Linked DNA regions of Homo sapiens: region 1 is linked to region 2. The links are contacts of gene promoters, found by promoter capture Hi-C in human tissues and cell types (Jung and others, 2019). All regions are on one chromosome and are shown on one strand. Each heading gives the region's core, a stretch centred on a gene start or on the middle of the fragment in contact. The rest is flanking DNA. Distances are from core to core; before and after follow the strand shown.

Region 1 (6,527 bases), core at 2,695-5,194, 55 kb after region 2:
AGAATCGTTTGAACCTGGGAGGCAGGGGTTGCAATGAGCCAAGATCACACCATTGCACTCCAGCCTGGGTGACAGAGCAAGACTCCATCTCAAAAAAAAAAAAGACACAGACACACAGAAGGAAGATGGTGTGAAGACACAGGGAAAATGGCCATTTTATTAAATCTCTTTTGCATTGCTATTAAGGAATACCCGAGACTGGGTGACTTATAAAGAAAAGAGGTTTGTCCCTTTCCCATTTAGAAAAAAAAAGTGCAGCTGGCTGCCAGTGCTCATTTAATTTTTACATAAACATGCTCTTTGGGGCTGAAGCAAATCTGACTGATTTTCAATGTGAAAATAAAATTTAAACACTGTTCTTGTGGTTATTTCTAAACAGAACTAACATCTGAATCATCAGAATTGTCTATTTCAGAAAAATCATATTCATCAAGTGAATCTTCGGCCAAAAACTGTTCGGGAACGATGTTAACATCACATGTAGGAATGCTACGTTTTCTAGGATTTGACATTTTCAGCGACCGAGAATTACTATGTTTTGTAAATGAAAATACCACTACTAAAAACAGAATGCTATATAGAGAATGATGTCTTTTGTTTCCAAAGTTGATATACTAAGTGATGTGGAAATAATAAAAGCGAGATATTTCACGGTAAAGTTATCTCAGGGTAAACACTGCAGCCGCAAGTGTTGCCAGCAAGTATTCTCTGGGCAAATGGGAAAAAGGTGAATTGACTCACAGTTCTGCAGGCTGTACAAGCATGGCACCAGCATCTGCTTGGATTCTGGTGGGGCCTCAGGAAGCTTTCAATCAGGGCAGAAGATCGAAGGGAGCTCAGGCATGTCACATGGCCAGAATGGAAGCCAGAGAAATGGGGAGGTGCCAGTGTCTTTTAAACTACCAGATCTTGCATGAACTAACACTCATTACTGAGAGGAGGACACCAAGCCATTCACAAGGCAGCCACCCCCATGACCCAAACACCTCCCACTAGGTCCACCTCCAATGTTGGGGGTCGCATTTCAACATGAGATTTGGAGGGGACAAACATCCAAACCATCTACAAGTCAAGGAGAGAGATCGCCAAAGGAACCCACTCTGCCAACACGTTGATCGTGGACTTCTACCCAGTAATAAATTGGCTTAATTTTTGTTAAGCCACCCAGTCTGTGGTACTTTATCGGCAGCCAGAGCAGACTAATAAAACGAGCAAGAGTTTATGAGGGAAGTTCCTGTGAGGGAAAAAAGGGAGAGGAAATAAGAGAAAGTAGAGTCTCAGACTGCAATGAGGTGTGACATCTGTGGAGTGAGAAAAGACAGGAAGGTGGGGAAGAGCTGAGCTCAGGCTCAGCTCCAACTGTCTGGAGAATCCAAGTTCTTCAGCATCTGGCCTAGCACCCCTGCAAGCTCAGTCATTGGTTGGGAGCAGCTCAGGGGATGTGTTCCAGGCATGAACACTGCAACACACCCGAGGGCTGGGGGCTGTCAGTCACCTGCCCTCCCCACAACCTGTTCTCCTGAAGCGAGACCTGGGTAGCATACCTCCATGCTGCCTCGCTGGGTGACAGATTGCAGGCCTGTCCCTGCCCTTCCCCTTCCCAAATACCCTCCTCTTCCTTGCCTTCCCTTAGCACTTCCGTAGGAGCTCATGACAAATAGCAGAAAACCAGAGGTGAGTGGAGGTTATAGGCTAAACAATGGGAGAAATGCCAATCTATTGGAAAATGAGGCAGGGAAAATTCCAATTTACTCTAGTTTCAAAGAGTCTTTGGGAGGCTGAGGCAGGAGGATCACTTGAGCCCAGGAGCTCAAGACCAGCCTGAGCAACATAGTGAGATTCCAACTCCACCAAAAATACAAAAATTAGCCAGGCATGGTGATGTGCCTATAGTCCCAGCTACTCAGCAGGCTGGGGAAGGAGGATCGCTTGAGCCTAGAAGTTCAATGTTGCAGTGAGCTATGATTGCACCACTGCACTCCAGCCTGGATGACCGAGTAAGACCCTATCTCAAAAAAAAAAAAAAAAAAAAAAAAAAGTCAAAACCACAATTCAGTTCAGGCCAGGTGCAGTGGCTCATGCCTGTAATCCCAGAATTTTGGGAGGCCAAGGTGAGTGGATCACCTGAGGTCAGGAGTTTGAGACCAGCCTGACCAACAAAGTGAAACCCTGTCTCTACTAAAAACACAAAAATCAGCTGGGTGTGGTGGTGCATGCCTGTAATCCCAGCTACTCGGGAGGCTGAGGCAGGAGAATTGCTTGAACCCAGGAGGCAGAGGTTGCAGTGAGCTGAGATCATGCCACTGCACTCCAGCCTGGGTACAAGACTCTGTCTCAAAAAAAAAAAAAAATAGATCAGCTACGTCACAATCACTTGGGACACCTAATAAATATAGGCTGTCCTGTGGTGGGACTGGAGCTGAGAAAGTTGAATTTGTGCATGAGTGTGTGTGTGTACATGAATGTGTAAATGCACAGCCAGTCTGAAGATCACACTGCCCATAGTTTCTCACCATGACCCATATTTGCAACACAAATGGTTGAGGATTATAGTTTGTCACTGTGAGAAGGAACAAAAAATTAATTGGCTTCATGAGCTCCTCCTTGTATCAACTGAAGGCCCTGCATGCTCTTTGAGGGACAGCTGAAATTCGGAACAAAGAGGCTCCCTCAAAGAGTGGAAATGAAAGGAGTAATATATGGTTCTTCTCAATCACATTGCCATGTGGAGACTCGGTGCTCTAGGAATTTTTATTATTAGCAACAGAAGGATCCACATGCCCACCTCTGTCACTTCCCACCCACTCCACATACACTGCTTCTTTGTTGGCAGAATATTACTCTAAGTGTGTTTTTACCCTTAGAATACAGCTCTAATTTCTGTTATTTTTCAGTTTTCATAACAATTTTTGAGCATATTGCTCATTCCAGTTTGAATAAACAGAAATTTGGGCTTAGATGTTATTTCATGTCAATCAGAGCCTTAAAAGAAGCTTAGCTCGGCCAGGTGGGGTGGCTCACGTCTGTAAGCCCAGCACTTTGGGAGGCCGAGGTGGGCGGATCACTTAAGGTCAGGAGTTCGAGACCAGCCTGGCCAACGTGGTAAAACCCCGTCTCCACTAAAAATACAAAATCAGCCAGACTCGGTGCTGTGCGCCTGTAATCCCAGCTACTCAGGAGGCTGAAGCACAAGACTCGATTGAACCCAGGAGGCGGAGGTTGCAGTGAGCTCAGCCGAGATTGTGCCACTGCACCCCTGCCTGGGTGACAGAGCGAGATTCCGTCTCAAAAAAAAAAAAAAAAAAAAAAAAAAAGCTTAGCTCTTATGTTAATATCTTTTCTGTTTTATTTTTCTTTATGATATCATTGTGTTCTCTACTATAAATTTCAGTTAATGTATTCTTTTTTTTTTTTTTTTTTTTTTTTTTTTTTTTTTTTTTTTTTTGAGACGGAGTGTCTCACTGTATCGCCCAGGCTGGAGTGCAGTGGCGCGATCTCAGCTCACTGCAAACTCCGCCTCCCGGGTTCACGCCATTCTCCTGCCTCAGCCTCCTGAGTAGCTGGGACTACAGGCGCCCGCCACCGCGCCCAGCTAATTTTTTGTATTTTTAGTAGAGACGGGGTTTCACCGTGTTAGCCAGGATGGTCTCAATCTCCTGACCTTGTGATCCGCCCGCCTCAGCCTCCCAAAGTGCTGGGATTACAGGCGTGAGCCACTGCGCCCGGCCAATGTATTCTTGAGATTATTAGAGAAGTGCAGATACACTACGTGTGCTCTCACACCACAAAAATCAACACTGAAGATGTCTGTGACCAAATGTGTGGGGATTTTTTCCCCACTAACAGGAAGCAATCAGTTCTGCCGCAGACACTAGCTGGGTGTTCTCCAATTCAATTCTGACGCTATCCACCTGGAGATAGTGTCAGATCCCACAGACTGAGGGCTCAGTCCCACAAGATCGCCTTTCCTTTAGACGCCAGTTGCAAGCCCAAGCCTGTTGAACTTCTGACCAATCCACTTCAAGTTGGGTGACCACCACTTTATGCGCGATTAATTTGCTAAAAGTGGCTCACAAAACTCAGGGAAACACTTAGGTTTACTGATTTATTTTAAAGGCTATTTTAAAAGATACAAATAAATAGCCAGATGAAGAGATACATAGGGTGAGGTCTGAAAGGGTCCTGACTGCAGGAGCCTCAGTTCCCGTGGAGAGGGATGCGCCACCCTCCCGGCAGGCGGATGAATTCTTGTTCATTTTCTTGCAAGCCTCCAGAACTTCAGCTGTGCAAAAGTTTCCCATACCTTATCCTCTTGGGCCTTTTATGGAGATTTTATTGGATAGGTATGATTGACAACCAAGGAGAACTGTGATTGGACAAAAAGAGTATGATCTAATGCTTATAGATTGAGTGGGGAAACCCGGTAAGGCCGAGATTCTTCCTGGCCTGTCTATGCAGCGTTCCTTCTTCCCGAGTATGGGACAGGACCCCTTCGGACTGGGGGTCTTACAACCTAAAATCAGACAAGGAAGGCAGTTCAGAGAATTTCAAGTCAGAAGATTAGAATATATTTTTAGTTTCTGTAGCCTGCATGGAGGAGAAAAAGAAGATAAAAGGGGGGCAGGAGGTCAGAGAGTGAGATTCTGTTTTCTAAGGCCTAAAATGCCCCAATATTATAACAAAAGATTGTCTCACCTTTATTGCTCTGGAGCCATTCGGAAGCTGCTTCAGGAATCAAGGACAAAAGATATGTTAAGGAACAATATGTTAAGGAACAATATGTTAAGGAAAGATATGCTTACTATTTTAGTCACTTAGGAAATTAACAAGGGCTATGGGAGTTATGAGCCAGGAATTGTGGACAAAAACCAACATACATATAATATCATACCACCCCAGTAATAATTTTCTCCCCTTTCCACTAGTTAAGTTATATTAACTAAAATATTATTAAGTAAAGTAGAAACAACCTCAATGTCCATCAACAGATTAGTGAATAAACAAAATGTGACATATTCATAAAATAGAATGTTATTTGGCATAAAAAGGAATGAAGCACTGGCCCGGTGCAGTGGCTCACACCTGTAATCTCAGCACTTTGGGAGGCCGAGGCAGGTGGATCACCTGAAGTCAGGAGTTCAAGACCAGCCTGACCAACACAGTGAAACCCTGCCTCTACTAAAAATACAAAAATTATCCAGGCCTGGTGGCACGTGCCTGTAATCCCAGCTACTCAGGAGGCTGAGGCACAAGAATCTCTTGAACCCAGGAAGTGAAGGCTGCAGTGAGCCAAGATCGCACCACTGCACTCCAGCCTGAGTGACACAGTGAGACTGTTTTGTGTTTGTTTTATGAAACAAACAAAAGAATAAAGTACTGACACAGGCTAAAACATGAATGAGCCTTGAAAATATTGTTGTGCTAAGTGAAAGAAGCCAGACACAGAAGGCCACCTACCGTGTGATTCTGTTTATACAAAATGTCCAGAACAGGCAAATCCATAGAGACACAAAGTAGTTTAGCACAGTGGTCCCCAACCTTTTTGGCACCAGGGACCGGTTTTGTGGAAGACAATTTTTCCATGGACCCGTTGGGAGGTAGCGGGGAGCGGTGAGGGGATGGTTTCAGGATGAAACTGTTTTACTTTAGATCATCAGGCATCAGATTTTCATAAGGAGCACGCAACCTAGATGCCTGCATGCACAGTTCACAATAGGGTTCCGGCTCCTATGAGAATCTAATGCCTCCACTGATCTGACAGGAGGCGGAGCTCAGGCGGTAATGCTCGCTGACCCACCACTCACCTCCTGCTGTGTGGCCCAGTTCCTAACAGGCCACCAACTGGTACTGGTCCACGGCCCCAGGGTTGGGGACCCCTGGTTTAGCAGTGGTTCCCAAGGGCTGGGTGGGGGAGGGGAATGGGGAGTGACTGATAATGGGAGTGGAATTTCTTTTTGGTTTTTTTTTTTTGAGACAGAGTCTCACTCTGTTGCCCAGGCTGGAGTGCAGTGGTGTGATCTTGTCTCACTGCAGTCTCGAACTCCCAGGCTCAAGTGATCCTCCCACTTCAGCTTCTGATATGGTTTGGCTGTGTCCCCACCCAAATCTCAGCTTGAATTGTATCTCCCAGAATTCCCACGTGTTGTGGGAGGGACCCAGGGAGAGGTAATTGAATCATGGGGGCCAGTCTTTCCTGTGCTATTCTCATGATAGTGAATAAGTCTCATGAGATCTGATGGGTTTATCAGGAGTTTCTGCTTTTGCTTCTTCCTCATTTTCTCTTGCCACCGCCATGTGAGAAGTGCCTTCGCCCCCTGCCATGATTCTGAGACCTCCCAAGCCATGTGAAACTGTAAGTCCAATTAAACTTCTTTTTCTTCCCAGTCTCAGGTATGTTTTTATCAGCAGCATGAAAAGAGACTATTACAGCCTCCCAAGAGGCTGGGACTACAGAAGCCCACTACCACACCAGGCTATTTTTTTGGTATTTTTTTGTAGAGTCAGGATTTCATGATATTGCCCAGGCT
Region 2 (6,967 bases), core at 4,468-6,967:
ACTTCCTAAAATCTCAAGATGGAAGATATACCACATGTAAATTATTTTAGAGCAATTAAATTGTTTTCAGGATTTTCCAAAAATGCTTCTTGTTTCATTTTATTATTTAAGTAACAGATTATCTGAGCCTCTGTGCCCTGCACACAGTGGTTTATAAATGCCTTGCCCTGCCTATGAAGCAGGCATGAATGCTCCAGTATAGACAGTGTTATCACTAGCAGACAGGACAAAGTAAGAAAGGTACGTAATAATTAATCTATTTGGGTGAATGTGGAAAGAAAAATACAAAGAAATATAACCAAAGCTTAAACAGCTATCACTGGGAAGTCAGAGATTTGGCTCCATAAAGAATGGTTTAGGGACCACAGAAGGTGGCCCAAAAGATGTACCTATGAGAGAGCTCCCAGCTGACGGGATTCATTGGCAGCATGAAGTGACAAATACAAATCTAAGCCATGGAGATATTAGTTCAAGCAATTTACCAAGTCGCAACTGTAGTACATACCTGTCATTGTTTTATTTTAATACAAGGGAGCAATTTCAATGTGTGTTTGTGTATACATGTATATGTTTATGTCGCACCTACTCCTTATTTTTTTTTTTTATTTTGAGACAGGGTCTCACTCTGTCGCCCAGGCTGGAGTACGGTGGTGTGATTATAGCTCACTGCGGCCTCAATTTCCTAGGCTTAAGCAATCCTTCTGCCTCAGCCTCCTGAGTAGACAGGACTGCAGGTGTGTGCCACCACACCCAGCTAATTTTTTTTTTTATTTTTAGTAGAGACAAGGTCTCACTATGTTGCCCAGCACGATCTCAAACTCCTGGCCTCAAGTGATCCCCCCACCTCAGCCTCCCAAAGAGCTGCTCAGCCTACACCTACTCTTTCTGAAAGGTGTTTCAGAGAAAGATTTCTACTGAGTGCTTTTTAAAAAATCAGTTATTGGCCGGGCACAGTGGCTCATGCCTGTAACCCCAGCACTCTGGGAGGCCGAGGTGGGCGGATCACCTGAGGTCGGGCATTCGAGACCAGCCTGGCCAACACGGTGAAACCCTGTCTTTACTAAAAATACAAAAAATTAGCCGGGCATGGTTGGCACATGTCTGTAATCCCAGCTACTCGGGAGGCTGAGTCAGGAGAATTGCTTGAACCCAGGAGGTGGAGGTTGTGGTGAGCCGAGATCAAGCCATTGCACTCCAGCCTGGGCAACGAGCAAAACTGTCTCAAAACAAAAACAACAACAACAAAATTAAAATTAAAAATTATCATCTTTAATCCCTACAGCTCTGACTTTCCAATCACTTCTTATGTGATGTGCTTTTTGCCTTATAAAACATTATATGACAAATTCACCAGTGGCTGGTGGGAATTGGACAGAATTCTATTTATGTGCCTTAAGCATAGTCATTCCGATTTGCAGAAAATAGTCATGTCCCAGATTTATTACTTATGTGTAGCTGTAATTTGTGAGCTGAAAATATGCTTGAAAATCTGTGATTCCTGAACAGTGGGTATTAATAGAAATTTATTTCACTATTGGTGTTAACTTTCGACAACAGGAGGATAATCGAGGCAGATATTTAGAAATGAAATATATCATAAAATATTAAGTTATTTATATTTAAATATGACAAATAATCCTTTATGCATTGAAAATTTGGGAAGTCTAAAAAGAAAAAGAAAAGCAATCAAGTCCTATCACTGGAGATAATTACTGCTATGATGGTGATGTATTTTCTTCTCATCTTTTTTGTCTGCTCATACATGTGAATGTTTTCACAAGGTTGTTGTGATCACATTACGATACAGTATTGTATCTCCACTATCTTTCTTTCTATTTCATTCACCCTTCCTGGAGTTGAGGCAGGAGAATAGGGTCTTGAGGCAGGGAACCTAAGGCTGATTCATGCTGACTTCCTAGAACTAAATTGAAAGGAAAACCTCAACTTTCCATGCCTAAGTAACAAAAGGACCAGAGGCTACTCCCTTTGTAACCTCCACCACCCCACCGCCCCTAGCCTTTTCTGCGTGGCAGAAACATCTGCAACCAATCAAACGTTTGCATAGGAGTGTAACTTTTGTAACTTCACTTCGGCCTCTCATTGGTTGCAGCAAGCAAAAGCAACCAATCAGACTGATTGCGGGCCACTACTTTATTTGCATGGGATGAATACCAAGTGGCCAGTGGGAAACCTCTAGGCAGTATTTGGACCCCAGAAGATTCTGTAACCAGGGCCCTTGAGCCACTGCTCAGCCAGGTCCCACCCTGTGGAGCACTTTCATTTTCAATAAATCTCTGCTTTTGTTACTTCATTCTTTCTCTGCTTTGCTGTGCATTTTGTCCAATTCTTTGTTCAAAAAGCCAAGAACCTGGACAACTTGTAGTCAAACCTTCTACTGGTAACAGTGTCACTAAATATTTTTCAAAAGCAAGATTTTTAAATAGCTGTATAATGTTGTAATGTGGCAGTACAATTATTATTTAGTCTTTCTCCTGCTATTAGAGTCAGCATTCATTCAGCAATTTAAGTACTATTGGGTGTGCTAGCAGATAAAGGTTTATTGATTATTGAAGATAATCCTTTTCTCAGGCATCACAGGTTGTAGGGGTAGGGACTGAACATTGAACTTCATATGGTATGGCTGTCTTAGGGGTACAGGCAGGGAGCTGTCAGCTTATAACTGGTCATTTAAACCACGAGGAAGTGAAGATGGCATTGCTCAGGGAAACAGGTAGGAAGCTAAGAGAAAAAGACTGAAGGTGGCACCCTGAGGAACACTCAATTGCATTGAACTTGAGATGCACTCAAATCTCTAGATCCCCATTTCCAAACATACATCTCCACTCATTTTTGTATGGACTTACTCAAAAAATTCAAAAACAGCCATTCTTCCTCTTGCCACCACATCCCTCACCCCTGAGATGCCAAGAACATGGAGCTTAAAAATTAGAGTGGTGGTCAGAGACGCCCCTGGGAGGAGGGCAAGGCTGGAAGCAAAGCCCATTCTGTGTGGCTTGTTCATCTTCCTTTCCCTTACATCATTGTCAGGTAGTCTGAGTTGTAATTGGATCATTAAACTTGTTCTGGGATTCCTTCTAAACTGCATGTGTCTGGCACATTTGCCCCACCTGCACAACCAGGAGCCCACCTGTCTAAGCACTGACTCCCCCTAACTCATGCTCCCCCTGTGCTCTCTTCTCTGCTGGAACCATCCTGAGCTGGGTCCCCACTCTCCTTCCACTATAGTATGGTACTTTTTCATAGGGCAGCCATTGACCACTTTGGAAACTAGACGTTCTGCTCTTCAAGCCCTTTGCCCCCACAACTCTCAGGGCTTGTTCTAGGTGGAAGCAGGAAAAGATGGGCATGCTAGTCCAGGACCCTCTATAGAAGGAATATCGGAGGGAAGCACAGGGTAAATCCATGGAGGCCCAGCCATGGAGGAGGAAATGATAGTCATAGGAAATGCCAAATGTCAGAGTGAGATTCAAGACATATTTGTTATTAATCAATTATGCAATGGTGTGATTGCATAAATAATGTGATTTTAGTTGGTTGTTTATTTGGGATGGAAATGTAGTCAGAAATTATTAAGTTGGTTATTGTGTCCCAGTACGCAATCTTTGAGTCAAATGACATTTGATTAGAAAATGTTCTTTCTTGTCTTACATTAAAGCTCTTTCCAGGGGCCTCAACAGGGGATAAAATATTGTGTTTTCTCAGAAATCTAGCAAATCAGAAGGTGAATGTTCATGATTATGATCTCTAAAGGAAAAGAAATTCTCTAATACAAGGTTTTGTTAAGCACAATGTTCACATAAGACATTTGAGGGAGAACCCCTTAAAAATAAGAGTTTAGGGCCAGGCACGGTGGCTCATGCCTGTAATCCTAGCACTTTGGGAGGCTGACGCGAAAGGTCAGAAGTTTGAGACCAGCCTGGCCAACATGGTGAAACCTCATCTCTACTAAAAATACAAAACTTAGCCAGGCATGGTCACGGGTGCCTGTAATCCCAGCTACTCAGGAGGCTGAGGTGGGAGAACCGCCTGAACCCAGGAGGTGGAGGCTGCAGTGAGCCGAGATCGCGCCACTGCACTCCAGCCTGGTGACAGAGCAAGACTCTGTCTCAAAAAGAAAAAAAAAAAAAAGAAAGAAAAAGAAAAATGAGAGATTATAATACCACAATGGATTCTTCACACAGATTATGCTATCCCTTGTTTGAAGATTTTCCAACATATGGCAAATTCTCTTTGTTTTTGGTCTTAACTGAGATTGGAAAAACTGAACTTAGTGTCATTTGAGGGAATTATTATAATGCAGTGTTTCTCAAACTTGGCTGTACATTATAATCACCTGGGGAGCTTTTATAAATCCCAGCTGTCCAGACCACACCATGGGCCAATTAAACTTTTCGGGTGCGACCCAGGTGTTTACCATGTGCAAAGAAGTTTGAAAATGACTAAAATAGGTAACTCTGAAGTCAAACTGCCTGGCTTCAAATTCCAGGCCAGCCACTTCCTAGCCATGTGACCCTGGGCAAGATATTTGATTTCTATGAATTCTATCAGAAAAAAAGACAATAAAAATAACATATTTTTGTAGGATTGCTATGAGGTTTAAACAAGATAATCTATGTAAATTATTTATTAATTTGCTGCAAAAGTAATCACGGTTTTGCCATTAAAAGTGATGGCAAACACTGCGAATCCTTTTCACCAACCTAACACAATGGGGCAGGCATATGTGAATTCCATAGGCTGGGCACAGTGGCTCACACCAGCACTTTGGGAGGCCAAGGGGTGGGGAGGAATGTGAACAATTTTCACAAGTTCAAGACCAGCCTAGGCAACATAGTGAGACCTCCTCTCTACAAAAAAATTAAAAAATTAGCCTAGTGTGATGGTGCATGCCTGTAGTCCCAGCTACTGAAGTGGGAGGATTGCTTGAGCCTGGGAGATGGAGGCTGCAGTGAGCTGTGATCGTGCCCCTGCACTCCAGCCTGGGTGACAGAGTGAGACTTTGTCTTAAAAAACAAAAAAATGAAGTTCTATGGTAATTATTATTAACTAACAGCTTTCTTATTTCATATTAATTACTCTGCAAGACACTTCCAGCATGGTTGCCCCATCTGACACTCATTCACCTCGTTGATTTTTTTTTGTTGTTGTTGTTGTTCTATAACATTCATTCATGCACAAATTCATTTTACAAGTATGTATTCATCTAACATTGACTTAACTATGAGTATGACAGAAGACACAAAAGAAATGTACACATCTGCCTCACCTCCCTTGGAGTTTATCTTCTCTAGTGTGTTCGTGTTTTCCGGTTCAGATCATAAGCATCATGAGCTAAGGGACCATGTTTTATGCCCGGACAGCCGTAGCACCCGGCGCTGCGGATTGGAGACACTGCTAGGCACCCGGGCTGGAAGATTGGGTTCTAGTTCTTGTTTTGCCGCTTACAGGCTGGGTGACAGGGAGCAATCCTGTTGTCCTCAATAGGTGTGTTTCCTCATCTGAAAGTGTACACAATCCATCCATGACTGCTGTGACGATTACAGGTCTACACAACGCGCATGTGGATTTGTCTTGCAAACGTCCACCATCAGGCCCTCAGGAAACAGTGCCGCGCGTGCCCACCAAGGGGCAGCAGATCGCAGTGCAGAGGCCCGCGGCGCTCGACGTCAGGGCGCACGTCCCACCCCGTGACCATGACTGTGACCGTGACCGAGAGCGTCGCTGGGGCACGGCCAGGCGGCGCGGCGGGAGTGCACAGGACGCGCCATGGCGGCCGAAGCCTCGGAGAGCGGGCCAGCGCTGCATGAGCTCATGCGCGAGGCGGAGATCAGCCTGCTCGAGTGCAAGGTGTGCTTTGAGAAGTTTGGCCACCGGCAGCAGCGGCGCCCGCGCAACCTGTCCTGCGGCCACGTGGTCTGCCTGGCCTGCGTGGCCGCCCTGGCGCACCCGCGCACTCTGGCCCTCGAGTGCCCATTCTGCAGGCGAGCTTGCCGGGGCTGCGACACCAGCGACTGCCTGCCGGTGCTGCACCTCATAGAGCTCCTGGGCTCAGCGCTTCGCCAGTCCCCGGCCGCCCATCGCGCCGCCCCCAGCGCCCCCGGAGCCCTCACCTGCCACCACACCTTCGGCGGCTGGGGGACCCTGGTCAACCCCACCGGACTGGCGCTTTGTCCCAAGACGGGGCGTGTCGTGGTGGTGCACGACGGCAGGAGGCGTGTCAAGATTTTTGACTCAGGGGGAGGATGCGCGCATCAGTTTGGAGAGAAGGGGGACGCTGCCCAAGACATTAGGTACCCTGTGGATGTCACCATCACCAACGACTGCCATGTGGTTGTCACTGACGCCGGCGATCGCTCCATCAAAGTGTTTGATTTTTTTGGCCAGATCAAGCTTGTCATTGGAGGCCAATTCTCCTTACCTTGGGGTGTGGAGACCACCCCTCAGAATGGGATTGTGGTAACTGATGCGGAGGCAGGGTCCCTGCACCTCCTGGACGTCGACTTCGCGGAAGGGGTCCTTCGGAGAACTGAAAGGTTGCAAGCTCATCTGTGCAATCCCCGAGGGGTGGCAGTGTCTTGGCTCACCGGGGCCATTGCGGTCCTGGAGCACCCCCTGGCCCTGGGGACTGGGGTTTGCAGCACCAGGGTGAAAGTGTTTAGCTCAAGTATGCAGCTTGTCGGCCAAGTGGATACCTTTGGGCTGAGCCTCTACTTTCCCTCCAAAATAACTGCCTCCGCTGTGACCTTTGATCACCAGGGAAATGTGATTGTTGCAGATACATCTGGTCCAGCTATCCTTTGCTTAGGAAAACCTGAGGAGTTTCCAGTACCGAAGCCCATGGTCACTCATGGTCTTTCGCATCCTGTGGCTCTTACCTTCACCAAGGAGAATTCTCTTCTTGTGCTGGACACAGCATCTCATTCTATAAAAGTCTATAAAGTTGACT

Evidence for each region. Contacts are between HindIII fragments. The study calls those that stand out against the background at their distance.
Region 1: a fragment that was not itself captured here is called in contact with the fragment with the promoter of NHLRC1 in region 2 in 2 of the 25 tissues and cell types used here (IMR-90 fibroblasts and aorta).

The regions. Positions count from the first base shown.
Region 1 is chr6:18,064,709-18,071,235 of GRCh38, reverse strand. No RefSeq gene overlaps it. Among named protein-coding and RNA genes, the nearest start is that of NHLRC1, 55 kb to the left of the region's middle. The HindIII fragment of the contact is 4,089 bases long and covers 1,900-5,988 here.
Region 2 is chr6:18,121,427-18,128,393 of GRCh38, reverse strand. It overlaps NHLRC1 (NHL repeat containing E3 ubiquitin protein ligase 1), which reads left to right and starts at 5,717. Exons shown (of 1, transcript NM_198586.3): 1 at 5,717-6,967. The coding sequence starts at 5,788. It overlaps TPMT (thiopurine S-methyltransferase), which reads left to right. Exons shown (of 9, transcript NM_000367.5): 9 at 1-83. The HindIII fragment of the contact is 9,942 bases long and covers 1-6,758 here.